2 separate regions of the Homo sapiens genome follow, and region 1 is linked to region 2. The links are contacts of gene promoters, found by promoter capture Hi-C in blood cells and fetal thymus (Javierre and others, 2016). All regions are on one chromosome and are shown on one strand. The core of a region is centred on a gene start or on the middle of the fragment in contact, and the rest is flanking DNA. Distances in the headings are between cores, read along the strand shown.

Region 1 (7,071 bases), core at 1,964-4,463, 150 kb before region 2:
CAATCTCAAATTGGATATGGAGGAAAATGGACAAGTTGTATATTAACAAAATACAAGACTATCTAGTACAGTTTGCCTTTTAAAAAAGAAATCTATCGTAGTGATTTAAGGCAAGTATTGCAAAAACGTTATGATCCCCAAACCAGAAAAAAATAATAATAATTATGTTTCCCTACCCAAGTAATTCTAACTGCGGGAAACATGTTATTAGAATTTGCCATAAGCTCAGAAGTTGAGCTGTTTTACTAGAAAATTAAACAAGTTTGACTAAATTTATACTCACTATTAAGTCACTTGAAAGCTTGCCTGCTGTCTCTTGTTTCAGGCTCCTGTATGTCACAAAATTAATTTGTTTCCATATTTCCTTTGGCAATTATAAGACAACTTCTGCCCAGCTTTTGTTAAAGGCTCATTTTACATTTAACCCCAGAATATAGCTCATATTTTCCTGGAATATTCAGGTGAATTTTCATTTGGACACTTAAGTTGTAGGAGTGTGAGTACACTAGGAAGACCCCAAGTCAGGTTTCTGTATTTAAGGGTGGGTGAAGTTTACCCAGATTCTTCTCCCCTTAAGTTGTTGGAATTCAAGGCAGCACCCTCATCTGGGAATTAAACAAGATTGGTTAGATAAATTTCACATCATACTAACATCTTAAAAGACGAATATGGGTAAAATATAAAGGAAGGAAAATTGAAAACTCCAAGACAGTAACTTTGAGATCAATTTCAGCTTTACTTTACATTTGCATTTATGCATTTGTTTGCAAAAAGTATACCTGTCCTTAACATTACTGCAATGTTCAGTTTAGTTTTAAAGTAGTACATAAAAATAAACAATTTAAGCTCCTATATATTTTACTGTTTCCAAGCTTCTACAGAACAGGTGTGCAAACTTAAGGTTTCTCATCTCAAACAAATCTCCATGCACGAACTAATCAAAAATGCTCAAGTCAGCAAACACGCAAAATGCATTAAAGAGAAACCTCGAATAATGTTTTTAAAAAACAAACTTTGGAACTTTTATAATTAAACTAAGTTGTTGCACCTCTCCTTTCATTTGCATATACCAAAGACTTCCAACAATAGATCTCGTACTTGGCACAAGGACATTTCAAAGAAACAAACAAAAAAAAAGAGAGAGAGAGAAAGGCAAAGAGGTTTACGCTGACTTGAGTGCAAGCTTAGTCCACTTCTTCGATGGTGGGTCCCCCGGAGGCTCCTGAACCGCCGCCGCCGCTGCCGCCGCCAGGACCACCTTGGTAAAGTTTGCTGATGATGGGGTTGCAAACTCTTTCGAGCTCTTTCTGCTTGTGTTCATACTCATCTTTCTCTGCCATCTGGTTTCGGTCGAGCCAGTTGATCACCTCCTGACACTTGTCGAGGATCTTGTTTTTGTCCTGCTCGCTAATCTTGCCCCTCAGTTTCTCGTCTTCCACCGTCTGCTTGATGTTGTAGGTATAGGACTCCAGGGCGTTTTTGGCCGCGACTCGGTCGCGATTCGCCTCATCTTCCGATTTGTACCGCTCCGCCTCCTGCACCATCCGGTCAATGTCGTCCTTGCTCAGACGACCTTTGTCATTGGTGATGGTGATTTTGTTTTCCTTACCGGTGCTCTTGTCGGCGGCGGTAACGTTAAGGATGCCATTGGCGTCAATGTCGAAGGTAACCTCGATTTGGGGGACCCCGCGAGGCGCAGGGGGAATCCCGGTCAGGTCGAACTTGCCCAGCAGGTTATTGTCCTTGGTCATGGCCCGTTCGCCCTCGTATACCTGCACCAGTACGCTGCTCTGGTTGTCCGAGTAGGTGGTGAAGGTCTGCGTCTGCTTGGTGGGGATCGTGGTGTTCCTCTTGATGAGTGGGGTCATGACACCGCCAGCTGTCTCGATGCCCAGCGACAACGGGGTCACGTCGAGTAGCAGCAGGTCCTGCACATTCTCTGATTTGTCGCCGATGAGGATGGCCGCCTGCACCGCGGCGCCATAGGCCACCGCCTCGTCGGGGTTGATGCTCTTGTTCAGCTCCTTGCCGTTGAAGAAATCCTGCAGCAGCTTCTGGATCTTGGGGATACGAGTGGAGCCGCCCACCAGCACGATCTCCTGGATCTGGCCCTTGTCCAGCTTGGCGTCGCGCAGCGCCTTCTCCACCGGCTCCAGGGTCCCGCGAAAGAGGTCGGCATTGAGCTCCTCGAAGCGGGCGCGCGTGATGGACGTATAGAAGTCCACGCCCTCGTAGAGCGAGTCGATCTCGATGCTCGCCTGCGTGGACGAGCTCAGGGTGCGCTTGGCGCGCTCGCAAGCGGTGCGCAGCCGCCTCACGGCGCGCTTGTTGGGCCCAATGTCCTTCTTGTGCTTGCGCTTGAACTCCTCCGCCAGGTGGCTCACCATGCGGTTGTCGAAGTCCTCACCGCCCAGGTGGGTGTCGCCGGCCGTGGACTTCACCTCGAAGATGCCATCCTCGATGGTCAGGATGGACACGTCGAAAGTGCCACCGCCCAGGTCAAAGATGAGCACGTTCTTCTCGCCGCCCGCGCAGCCCTTCTTGTCCAGGCCGTAGGCGATGGCCGCCGCCGTGGGCTCGTTGATGATGCGCAGCACATTGAGCCCCGTGATGGTGCCTGCGTCCTTGGTGGCCTGGCGCTGCGAGTCGTTGAAATAGGCCGGGACCGTTATGACCGCGCTGTGCACCTTGCCCCCCAGGTAGGCTTCCGCGATCTCCTTCATCTTCGTGAGGACCATGGAGGATATCTCCTCTGGGAAGAAGGTCTTGGTCTCCCCCTTGTACTCTACTTGCACTTTGGGCTTGCCTCCCTCGCTCACCACCCGGAACGGCCAGTGTTTCATATCCGACTGCACTGTGGCATCCTCGAATTTCCGTCCAATCAGCCTCTTGGCGTCGAAGATGGTGTTGGTGGGGTTCATGGCCACCTGGTTCTTGGCGGCGTCGCCGATGAGGCGCTCGGTGTCCGTGAAGGCCACGTAGCTGGGGGTGGTGCGATTGCCCTGGTCGTTGGCGATGATCTCCACCTTGCCATGTTGGAAGACCCCGACGCACGAATAGGTGGTGCCCAGGTCGATGCCGATAGCCGGGCCACGGGCAGACATCCTGACTGAAAGGCGAGCGACGTTAGGACGGGAAAACCAGGGAGATGAACTCCGCGGAGTCAACTAACGGCCACCTCGAACCAAGCACCACGGGCACTACCAGCAACTCAGCTCCCCGCGCCCAGTTCCCGGTTCTTATAGCCGCCTCTGGGAACTCCCAGACCCAATCCGCTCCCGGGACCGCCCTCACAAACTCTTCCAGCTCCACCACAGGCTTGCCTAGGTCGGAGTGACTGGCCCGTGACCCAACAGATTTCAAGTTGGACGAGGGGCGGGACTCCGGCCCCCGCCAGGAGACAGAGGGGCGGCCGTTATGTAAATGAGGTTCCTCCCTGACTCTCGGCCGCCAGGCCGTGGTGCCTCGCGCGCCTCCTGCTGCTGGCTGGCGTTAGGCGCGCGCTCCCAGAGCCAGGTGTACGCGCTTTTTCGCGGTCTTTGCCCTAGCCGACGTGCATCGGATTGGCAGGGCACGCGGCCAATGAGCAGTGCGGACTGAGGCGCGGCACGGGGAGGAGGCGTGGAAGGGGATCCCGGTGAGGAGAGCCACTGGGAGAGTTCGCTCAATTCCTGAGGTTTTAAATGCAGTTCACTGCTAGGGTGCCGACTCACTGAGCACGCAGGGGCGGAGGAATTCATTCTGAGTTGGTTGCACCGAAGAAATAAAGCTCGAGCAGCTTGTTTTCCCCGGCGCCGTCCAAGGGGAGGGAATAGGGAATTGGGGTGGCTGGGGTGGGGGGTGAGGGCGGATCCCTTGGACGGGGATTAAAGAAAAGAAAAAGTCTGAACCGGCGGTCGGCCTCCTGGGATTTTATGGTGGGTGCTTCACTGCGTCTCAGTGGTTGTGAGCGCTCGATTAAAACTGCCTGGCTGGGGCCGGGCGCAGTGGCTAACGCCTGTAATCCCAGCACTTGGGAGGCCGAGGCGGCCGGATCACGACGTTAAGACATCGAGACCATCCTGGCCAACATGGTGAAAGCCCGTCTCTACTAAAGATACAAAAATTAGCTGGGCGTGGTGGCGCGTGCCTGTAGTCTCAGCTACTCGGGAGGCTGAGGCAGGAGAATCGCTTGAACCCGGGAGGTGGAGGTTGCAGTGAGCCGAGATCACGCCACTACACTCCAGCCTGGGCGACTGAGCGAGACTCCGTCTCAAAAAAAACAAAAAAAAACCCCACTGCCTGGCGGGCGGAGAGAACCTGAGCCCAGGGCGAGGCCGACCGTTTTCCCGCGCCGCGTGAGGGCGGCTGGCGGGACGGCAGACAGGGGTGTGGCGGCGACTTGTCCTCCGAGGAGCCTGCATTTAAACCCTTCCTGCCTCACTCTTCCTTTTTCCTGTTTGTCCTGCCGCTTTAAACTCTGGTTTCGCCTTCCTGTTCATTCCATTGCTTATTTTAGGTCGCAAGTGCTTTATCCACTGCTTTGAGTTTTTGACTGGAAAACCCATAATATAATCAGTCAAAACCCACACGTTGAAACACCATAAAGTCACCCAGTCTCGGTCACCCTGGCACACACGGGGTTGTGATCGTGACCTAGTCATGTTTCTGACTCCGCTCAATGGAATGGAATGATTTTCTTTGGCTGTGCTGAGGTTAATATTGGAGGCATAAACCCTCCGAGAAGGTAGATGAAAAGGAGCGCGATTCACTTCCTCCTGTTTAACAGGAATGTGAGGACAGGTCTGGAAAATACCCTGGCACCAGGTAATAATCTTTAGAAGCAGGCTCCCATATAAATGGGCTCCTGGACGGGTGTGGAGGCTCATGCCTGTAGTTTCAGCACTTTGAAAGGCCGCGGTAGGTGGATCACTTGCTGTCAGAAGTTCGAGGCCAGCCTGGCCAACATGGTGAAACCCCGTCTCTACTAAAAATACAAAAATTAGCCGGGCGTGGTGGCGCGCGCCTGTAGTCCCAGCTACTCGAGAGGCAGAGGTTGCAGTCAGTCGAGATTGCGACACTGCACTCCAGCCTGGGCGACAGAACGAGACTCCGTCTCAAAAAAATAAAATAAATGGTCTCCAGGAGGAAGCAAAGACAGCGATCACTTTACATAATATGTGTGGGGAGGCTGGGGAAGTCCTTCCATCAAGCTTGAACAGGTACCTACTACGTGGCAGTAAAAAGCCAAATGAAATGGCCTGGTCTTCAGAGGTGGAGAGTCTAATAAACAGGTAAACATAATTTGGGAGAAGCGCTGAAAGCAAAGCGCCATGGGAACACAGAGGGGCACACCCAGGCTGATGGAAAAGTGCGTTGCTGAGAGCTACCTGGAAGAGGTGGCATGCCTAATCCGGGAGCTGAAGTTCGCCAGCAAAGAGTAGGAAAGCCATTCTTTACATAGGTTGTGTATGGGCGAAGATGAGAGCAATGTTTGCTGGACTAGGATTTCTGTACAGAAGATTAGTGTCACTAGAAGGGAGGGATACAGGCAAGCAATAGGCTCTTCAGGTGGATAGGATACATCTCAGAGCTTTTTGAGCCATGGTCTTTTTCCTGAGGCTTTGGGCTGGGAGCACCGTCCTTTAAAGCAGGCTAGTGATGTGCAGCCATGTAAAAGCTGTATGAAATGGCGCTGGAGAAAAGCTTTTGTCAACCCAGAAGTTATCTGTGACCAAAAAGTAATGTTGAGAGAATTCTATAAAGTCAATGAACATTTAAGATTATTTTATCTAGTGGTGTATATCATTTCCAGTTTTTAAGAACATAATTGGTTATTAATCGGTTAATGTCATCAGTTAGTACTAATTTTAACCATAATTCCTATCCTCTTTTCCATGAATTTGAAAAAATTTTGAAAAAGGGGACGTTTTAAAGAAAATATTAGAAAGGCTGGACGCGGTGGCTCATGCCTGTAATCCCAGCACTTTGGGAGGCCGAGGCGCGTGGATCACGAGGTCAGAAGTTCAAGACCAGCCTGGCCAAGATGGTGAAACCCTGTCTCTACTAAAAATACAAAAATTAGCCGGGCCTGGTGGTGGGCGCCTGTAATCCCAGCTACTTGGGAGGCTGAGGCAGAGGATTGCTTGAATCCGGGAGGCAGAGGTTGCAGTGAGCTGAGATCACGCCACTGCACTCCAGCCTGGGCGACAGAGCAAGACTCTGTCTAAAAAAAAAAAGAAAAAGAAAAGAAAATATTAGGAAAACAAGGATAAAACCCAGACTTTTCTAATTGAAACTGTCATAAATTGTGAGTACAGATCTCTTGATTTTATTCTTGGAAATTCTTGTCTTTTGTGTAGTTTGGGGGTGGGGGGTATTTGTTTGGTTTTTTTTGAGACAGAGTCTTGTTCTGTCGCCAGGCTGGAGTGCAGTGGCTCACTGCAACCTCTGCCTCCTTGGTCCAAGAGATTGTCGTGCCTCAGCCTTCCAGATAGCTGGGTTACTTATGTGCACCAGCACGTCCATCTAATTTTTATATTTTTGGTAGAGACAGGGTTTCACCATGTTTGCCAGGCTGTTCTCGAACCCCTGACTTCAAATTGTCTGCCCATCTTGGCCTCCCAACGTGCTGGGATTACAGGCCTGAGTTTTTCTTCTCTCTTTTCTTTTCTTTCTCTTTCTTTCTTTCTTTCCTTCTTTTTCTTTCTTTCTTTCTTTTCTTTTCTTTGTTTTTTTAGAAAAGGGAATTAGTGGGCTGGAAGCAATGCATATTCTTTGTAGAACTGATGATATATGACTTAGAGATACAGTCTCAGCTACAACTGAAACAAAGAATGTGAGAAACACAAATTCTTTAAATCTCTTGCATTCAGTCAGCCCTCAACACACCTCAAGCAAACCAAGATTGCAAAAGAGCAAGCAGGCCAGAGTTCTCACATAGAATCACTAAAATTAGAGCTTCAGAGGAATAGTTTCTTTTGCACAATAACTGTGCTACCTCTGTGCCCAGATATTACAAACACATCTTGCAATCTGACCACCACATTCATCTTTAACACAGGTTTCTGAAACCACAGTAGCAATTATACC
Region 2 (6,873 bases), core at 3,507-6,006:
CTTTTTAAGCACAAAAGGGCCTACATGTATTTAATCTACAGGACAAAGTAAAAGTCTTATCCATGTTAACTTAGTAACCAAGAAGACCTGCCCTTCACTATGGTAAGCAAATTATTTTCACAAAAACAGTTCTTCTAGCCCTGTAGCTAAATGTACAGCCAAGGTTCCAAACTTTTATCTTTGATCACTAGGATAAATTCTAATTTTAAGTCTCAAGATTATAAGCCAGCTCCCAAAGGTACAGCCTGGATAAACACAAACATCACTTTTTTATTCAATGAGTACTTTCTAAGTACCTATTTATTAAAACTTACCATGTACCAACAACTTCTCTAAATGCTTTATAGGTATTAAACTCATTTAATTCTAACAACCTTATGAGTTAGGTGACATTACTACCCCAATATACAGAAGCTAAGGCACAGAGGTAAATTGCATGACCCAGTGATGCACAGAGGAGGCAGCACCGTGCTTAGGCTCTGGAGCTACCATCCACAGCGAGCTTACAAATATACCCAACTTGCCCTGCACTTGGCCAGCAAACACTCGCAGCACCTACTCAAACCATCTGCCTCTTCACAACCAGTCTCTTTAGAAAGGAGACTTAATCAAGAAAAATGCCACCAATGGAGAGAGCAGGCTTAATTATAGCAAACTAAGGGAAGGAAAAACCAAACAAATCATATAAATGTAGTAAGCCCCCCTTTGAAAGGCCCACTTATAGAACAACTATGCTTTCTTGCCTACAAAGCAAGGTGGGTCTTCCAACACTAATGCACATCCTTCTCCCACTTTGCATAATCTTTTAAAAGACACCACCCTTCTGCCCAGGGCAGGGTCAGGTTCCTCTACTCAGGAGCCTCCACTCGGTCAGCTTCTCACAGGGCCATTGCCATTGACCCCCCAAAGCAGTAAGTTAGTAACTGGTGAGGACAAAGGTCTATGGCACAGGCTGTGTTTTTGGTCAGGAGCTATTTCCCTCACAACATTGGCAGGCTTAAGGCTCCACCTCCTTCAAGTCTTTGCCCGTAAGTCACTTTTACAAAGACTATGACTCCCATATTTAAAATTGCAGCCACCATACCACAGAAACTCCTGTCCCTCTTTTCTGCTCTGGTGTTCTCTTTGTGCTTCCCACCAGCTCACAATGTGTTTCACCTATTTAAATGTCTGTCTCTACCCATCAGTATGCAAGTTTCATGAGGGTAGGGATTTGGGCTGTTTTGTTCACTATTAGACTCTCAGAGCTTTGAAGATTGCCTGGCTTAGGGGACACATACAGCTACTTGTTGAGTAAGTGAATAAATACCCACAAAGAACAGATACTTGTCTCTAACTCTCAGACCTTCCCCCGGTTGTCAAATTCAGGCTGCAAACTTAGAATTCCCCGTGAGGGAGAAAAGGGGCTGTTACTTCCAAAGAAAGATAATTTGGCAACTAAATCCATCATGTAAGTACCCAGTTTCCCACAGAGTAGAGCAGGTAGAGAAGGAATCTGGAATGCTGAACTTTGTTGATGTCCGAGCTCCCAGGAAGGCATAAAAGGAGAATAATAATAGAAGAGGACGAGTCAGGGATAGCATTCTCAGCAGGGTGGGAAACATGCTAATGAGAGGAAGACTGTAAAGAAAAAGCAAAGCGCCAGCGGGGGCGCAGTGGCTCACACCTGTAATCCTAGCACTTTAGGAGGTGGAGGTGGACAGATCACTTGAGGTCAGGAGTTCAAGACCAGCTTGACCAACATGGCGAAACCCCATCTCTACTAAAAATTCAAAAATTAGCCGGGCATAGTAGTGCATGCCCGTAGTCCCAGCTACCTGGGAGGCTGAGGCAGGAGAATCGTTTGAACCCAGGAAGTGGAGGTTACAGTGAGACAACATCGTGCCATTGCACTCCAGCCTGAGCAACAGAGCAAGACCTTGTCTGAAAAATAAAAAGAAAGAAAGAAAGAAAAGAAAAAGAAAAGCTTACGAAATTCCTTTTAGCAAGTAGTAAGTGCTGGTTAGAATGAAAAACATCATATACTGGGTGAAGACCTTAGTTTTAGTTGAGCCATTGCCATTCACCCTTGGACAAATCACATCACTTTTCTGGCCTCAAATGATTTCCTAATCCGCAGGATGGAATGTGGGAAGTGGGCTGGATTTTTAAGAAATTCTAGGACCGGTGCAGTGGCTCATGCCTGTAATCCCAGCACTTTGGGAGGCCGAGGTGGGTGGATCACATGGGGTCAGGAGTTACAGACCAGCCTGACCAACATGGTGAAAGCCCGTCTCTACTAAAAATACAAAAATTAGCCGGACGGGGTGGCACACACCTGTAGTCTCAGCTACTCGGGAGGCTGAGGCAGGAGAATCGCTTGAACCTGGGAGGTGGAGGTTGCAGTGAGCCAAGATCATGCCATTGCACTCCAGCCTGGGCAACAAGAGTGAAACTCTGTCTCAAACAAACAAACAAACTAGCTGGACATGGTGGCGGACGCCTGTAATCCCAGCTACTTGGGAGGCTGAGGCAGGAGAATCGCTTGAACCCAGGAGGCAGAGGTTGCAGTGAGCCGAGATCACGCCATTGTACTCCAGTCTGGGCGACGAGTGAAACTCCATCTCAAAAAAAAAAATTAGCTAGGCGTGATGGCGGGCACCTGTAATCCCAGGTACTCAGGAGGCTGATATGAGAGAATTGCTTGTATGCAGGAGGCAGAGGTTGCAGTGAGCCAAGATTGGACACAGCAAGACTTCATCTCAAAAAAAAAAATAGATCTCAAGGCAGCAGCTACCATGTAAAAAAAAAAAAAGATAATGAATCATTCATATATACATTAACTAATTACTGATTATTAATACAACATATATCGAATACTTATTATGTGCCAGGAAGAATTATAAATGATCATCTGTTAGGAACCCATTTAATTCTACTAACATCCCAATGACCTAGACATTACTTTTACTTAACATTTGAGGAAACTTTGGCACAGAAAGGTTAATTAATTTGCTTAAAACCACACAAGTAGTAAGGCAGGAAACAGGGTTTCCAGGTGTTTAGGATATAGACAAAAATAAGACAATACATGTATTTGCCCTTATGGAGTTGATAAACATATTTAATTTGCTCTCCAATTAACGAAAGTATATTCAGTGAGCACCTATTCTCAGTACTGGCCCAGATGCATTATTATTGTACTAAATTATCTGCACTATTATTATGCACTAAATTATCTCTTCACAATCAGTCTTTCTAAAAGGAAGATTTTTATATTAAAACAAAAAGCCACTGGAAAAGGAAGTAAGTTTGAATACAAGCAAACAAAAACAGAAAGTAAAGCAGAAATACAGTTTAGCAAGCCACATGTTGAAAAGCACTAAGCAGTAAGTATTGTGATTTCTTTTTTTTTTTTTCTTAGACGGAGTTTCGCTCTTGTTGCCCAGGCTGGAGTGCAATGGCGCATCTCAGCTCACTGCAACCTCTGCCCCCCAGGTTCAAGTGATTCTCCTGCCTCAGCCTCCCAAGTAGCTGGGATTACAGATGCCTGCCACCACACTCGGCTAATTTTTTGTATTTTTAGTAGAGATGGGGTTTCACCATTTTGGATAGGCTGGTCTTGAACTCCAGACCTCAGGTGATCCACCCACCTCGGCCTCCCAAAGTGCTGGGATTACAGGCATGAGCCACTGGGCCCGGACTTTTCACCACCGATGACTTTGTAATTCACTCAAAAACCTATTACAAAGTTAGGAGTTACAGGACAATTACAATTTAGTAACTGCTGTGGCTGGCAACAGTTACTTACATAACGGGTGATGTGAAAGGTCCCAAGAGCAAACTCAGTAAGGTCACACAGAATATATCTTTCCCTCCTTCATCTACTAGAGGGAATATATTTTTCCCTCTTCCTTCTACTCTCATTTTTCCTCACCAGTCACCTCCCAGACAAAAAGCAGCCAGTGTTACTTCCTGGGAGTAAAGCTGGCAACGATACCCACTAATTAAGCATTCAGATGTCCCGCAAGGGTAGAACAGGCAGAGGTCAAGTGGAATGCAGAATATTCTCAGGACTCAGGAGCCAAATTACGTTTCAAGTAACTCTAGGACCAGGGCAGAGAGATGGCTGTTAGAGAGAAGCACGAGATTGAAGAGAAAGGAAAAATGTATTAGATTTCACTTAGCGTATGATAAGACTATGGTATAGTGGGAAAAGCTATGAGCTGGAAGGACCCTCTGTCATTATCAGCCTTGTAGTCTTGTCAAGCCTTGTCACCTCACTAGTCTCCATCTACTCACCTCCAAATTAACGGGAATTAAGTAGATTGGATTTCTGAGTTCTGACTAGGGGGGCTCCAGGAAGCCGCAACTACCCACTCTCCCGGCAGAAAGTCACCAGCAGCTGCGCGTTTGGGAGCATAGTCGGCACAGGACTTTTCCCCGAAGCACAGGAGCCAGCGGCTACAGCCACTAGGCAGTCCACTTGCAAACGCAGGTTGTGCCCGGGTTCTCTTTCTTTGGCTGCAGGTCTTCAGGTGTTATGGGCCTAACTCTTCCGCTACAAGTGTCCCTCCCGCAAAAAATGGGTCCGGGGGACCTGCACACCCTCAGAGCCCTCGTCCACAGCCCCACACTCAACAACAATGTCAGGTGCTTACGCGGAGATCTCCTTCCCGTTCAGGATTTCTGCTGGCGCCATGGCCTTTATTAGTCCGCTGCCCACGATGGACACCACCAATATCGAGGTTCCACTCCCTCCGCAGCCAAGCAGGACAACCCAACCCACGTGCTTAGGGACTGGCCAGGGGATCACACTACTGCGCCTGCGCCCCTGCCCGCTTCTCCCCCTGCAGACGCGGTGGCGCATGCGCAGTTCGGAAGGACCCGAGTCCCTTAACTAACCGAGAGCTAACAGGTCGGGGACTGCGGGACGGAAGAGGGAGGGGAAGATGAAGAAAATCGGTGATGAATGGCTGGCGGAAATGATTGGCGGAAAGAAAGAGCCAGTTCACAGTGCGCCTTTGTATTCGGCGGGAAACCCGGCCGAAGAGGGAGCTGGAAAGGACTCCGGAATCCGGCCGTAATTCCAGCCAATCAGGGAGTAGAGTTGCGGGGCGGGGTTGGGGCGGGGCAGTCTCGCGGGAGATAGTTTCGCGGGTTCGGGAGGCGAGTCTCCGGTTTCCGCCCAGTCTCTGGGGACGCGGTGGCGGGGTCTGAATCGCCTGGCTTCCAGGGAGTTTTGGGCGGGTCCCCGCACGGGAGCGTGGCAGGCGCTGGACTCGACAGCAGATGTGGAACTGGAGAGCTTGGCGCGCCCTCATACTTTGTCACACACCTACGCCACCAGACTGGGGTCGGGCCCCTCCGCGTTCTGCTCTGGAGGGCCTGGGTCTGGGCCCAGCATAGCGCTTTTAGAATCTCCTCAGCTGAATCTGACGCTCAGCCGTAGGTGAAGCTTAGCCCGCTGTTTCAGGCCCCGCCGATCTGGAAGGAGTGTCAGAGCTGGAGCGCGCGTGGCCTCATCGGTGTTGGGGTCACCCCGGGGTTGCCAGGGCTCATGGAGGGTCGTAGTCTGGATTTTGTCACCCCCACGTCCCCGCCCCGCAGCAAGTCTGGGGTTGGAGAACTCACGCGGTCTTCGTAAGCTACATGCCAGTTGACCCTCGAGGAGGGATGCTCCCTCCCCTTAAGCGTCCACGCTGGAGAAGGAGTAAGATGGACAATTGCCTGGGGAGCCTGACAGGGCGGTGGCAGCTGGGATGCTGGAGAGGACTGGCCCCTTGTGTTACTGAGTCCAAGGAATATGCTTGCTCTGCTCTAGGAACCGCGTTCAGGTTACAGTCATCCCAGTAGAGTCCTGAAGATGCGTGGTTCAGGTCACTTAGGACTTGACCAGATACCGGGTTTCTTTTACAAGCCGTTTACTACTGGCAGAGCTCATCTAAAACTTTTTTTGTTTGTTTGTTTGAGACGGAGTCTCATTCTGTCGCCCAGGCTGGAGTGCAGTGGCACGATTTTGGCTCACTGCAACCTCCGCTTCCCGGGTTCAAGCAGTTCTCTGCCTCAGCCTCCCGAGTAGCTGGGATTACAGGCACCACCTAATTAGCCCGCCACCACGCCCGGCTAATTTTTGTATTTTTAGTAGAGACGGGGTTTCACCATCTTGGCTAGGCTGGTCTTGAACTCCTGACCTCGTGATCCACCCGCCTCGGCCTCCCAGAGTGCTGGGATTACAGGCGTGAGCCACCGCACCTGGCCTAAAACTGATTTTTTATTAATTTTGGGGCTTTTAATATTTTTTTCTTATTTCTAAATTCTGAGGTTATTTATAGTAGCCCCATATACGGGATTAGATAATCTCTTGTGATTTTCTATTTCTGGTAATTATTTCTAATATATGTTTTTTTGTTTTTGAGACGGAGTCTCGCTATGTCGCTCAGGGTGGAGTGCAGTGGCATGATCTCCGCTCTTTGTAGCCTCTGCCTCCCGGGTTCAAATGATCCTCCCACCTCAGCCCCCCGAGTAGCTTGGACCACAGGTGCATGCCACCACGCCGGCTAATTTTTCTATTTTTGGTAGAGTTGGGGTTTCACTATGTTGACCAGACTGGTCTAGATCTCAAGGGATTAGTCTCCCTTGGCCTCCCAAAATGCTGGGATAATGGGCATGAGCCACCGTGCGTGGCCTTAAAGTTACTATTCTTAAAGTTTGCACAAGTGATATGTTAAAGGCACAGACTTAGTAATATAATGTCATTATAATAATAACCCTAAAACACATTGTCTCATATTGTGTTGTACCTAAACAAGTGAAATTAAGAAGAAAATTGAAGGAAATGTTTCTGGTAAATTGCAGATAGTGAATCTTTTGTCTTATACTATCAAATAGGTA

The links. The method cuts DNA at HindIII sites, captures the fragments that hold promoters and counts their contacts. A CHiCAGO score of 5 or more calls a contact.
Region 1: a contact is called between the fragment with the promoter of HSPA2 here and the fragment with the promoter of MTHFD1 in region 2, in 2 of 17 cell types (monocytes and naive CD4 T cells). The highest score is 5.0, in monocytes.

The regions. Positions count from the first base shown.
Region 1 is chr14:64,536,883-64,543,953 of GRCh38, reverse strand. It overlaps HSPA2 (heat shock protein family A (Hsp70) member 2), which reads right to left and starts at 3,213. Exons shown (of 1, transcript NM_021979.4): 1 at 717-3,213. The coding sequence starts at 3,104. The coding sequence ends at 1,185. It overlaps HSPA2-AS1 (HSPA2 and ZBTB1 antisense RNA 1), which reads left to right and starts at 3,586. Exons shown (of 4, transcript NR_110550.1): 1 at 3,586-3,637. RefSeq lists an enhancer at 3,069-3,178 and a silencer at 3,349-3,438. The HindIII fragment of the contact is 4,009 bases long and covers 1,186-5,194 here.
Region 2 is chr14:64,386,236-64,393,108 of GRCh38, reverse strand. It overlaps MTHFD1 (methylenetetrahydrofolate dehydrogenase, cyclohydrolase and formyltetrahydrofolate synthetase 1), which reads right to left and starts at 4,756. Exons shown (of 28, transcript NM_005956.4): 1 at 4,641-4,756. The coding sequence starts at 4,681. RefSeq lists enhancers at 1-30, 339-1,072, 4,904-4,993, 5,514-5,573, 5,594-5,693 and 1 more. The HindIII fragment of the contact is 3,471 bases long and covers 1,969-5,439 here.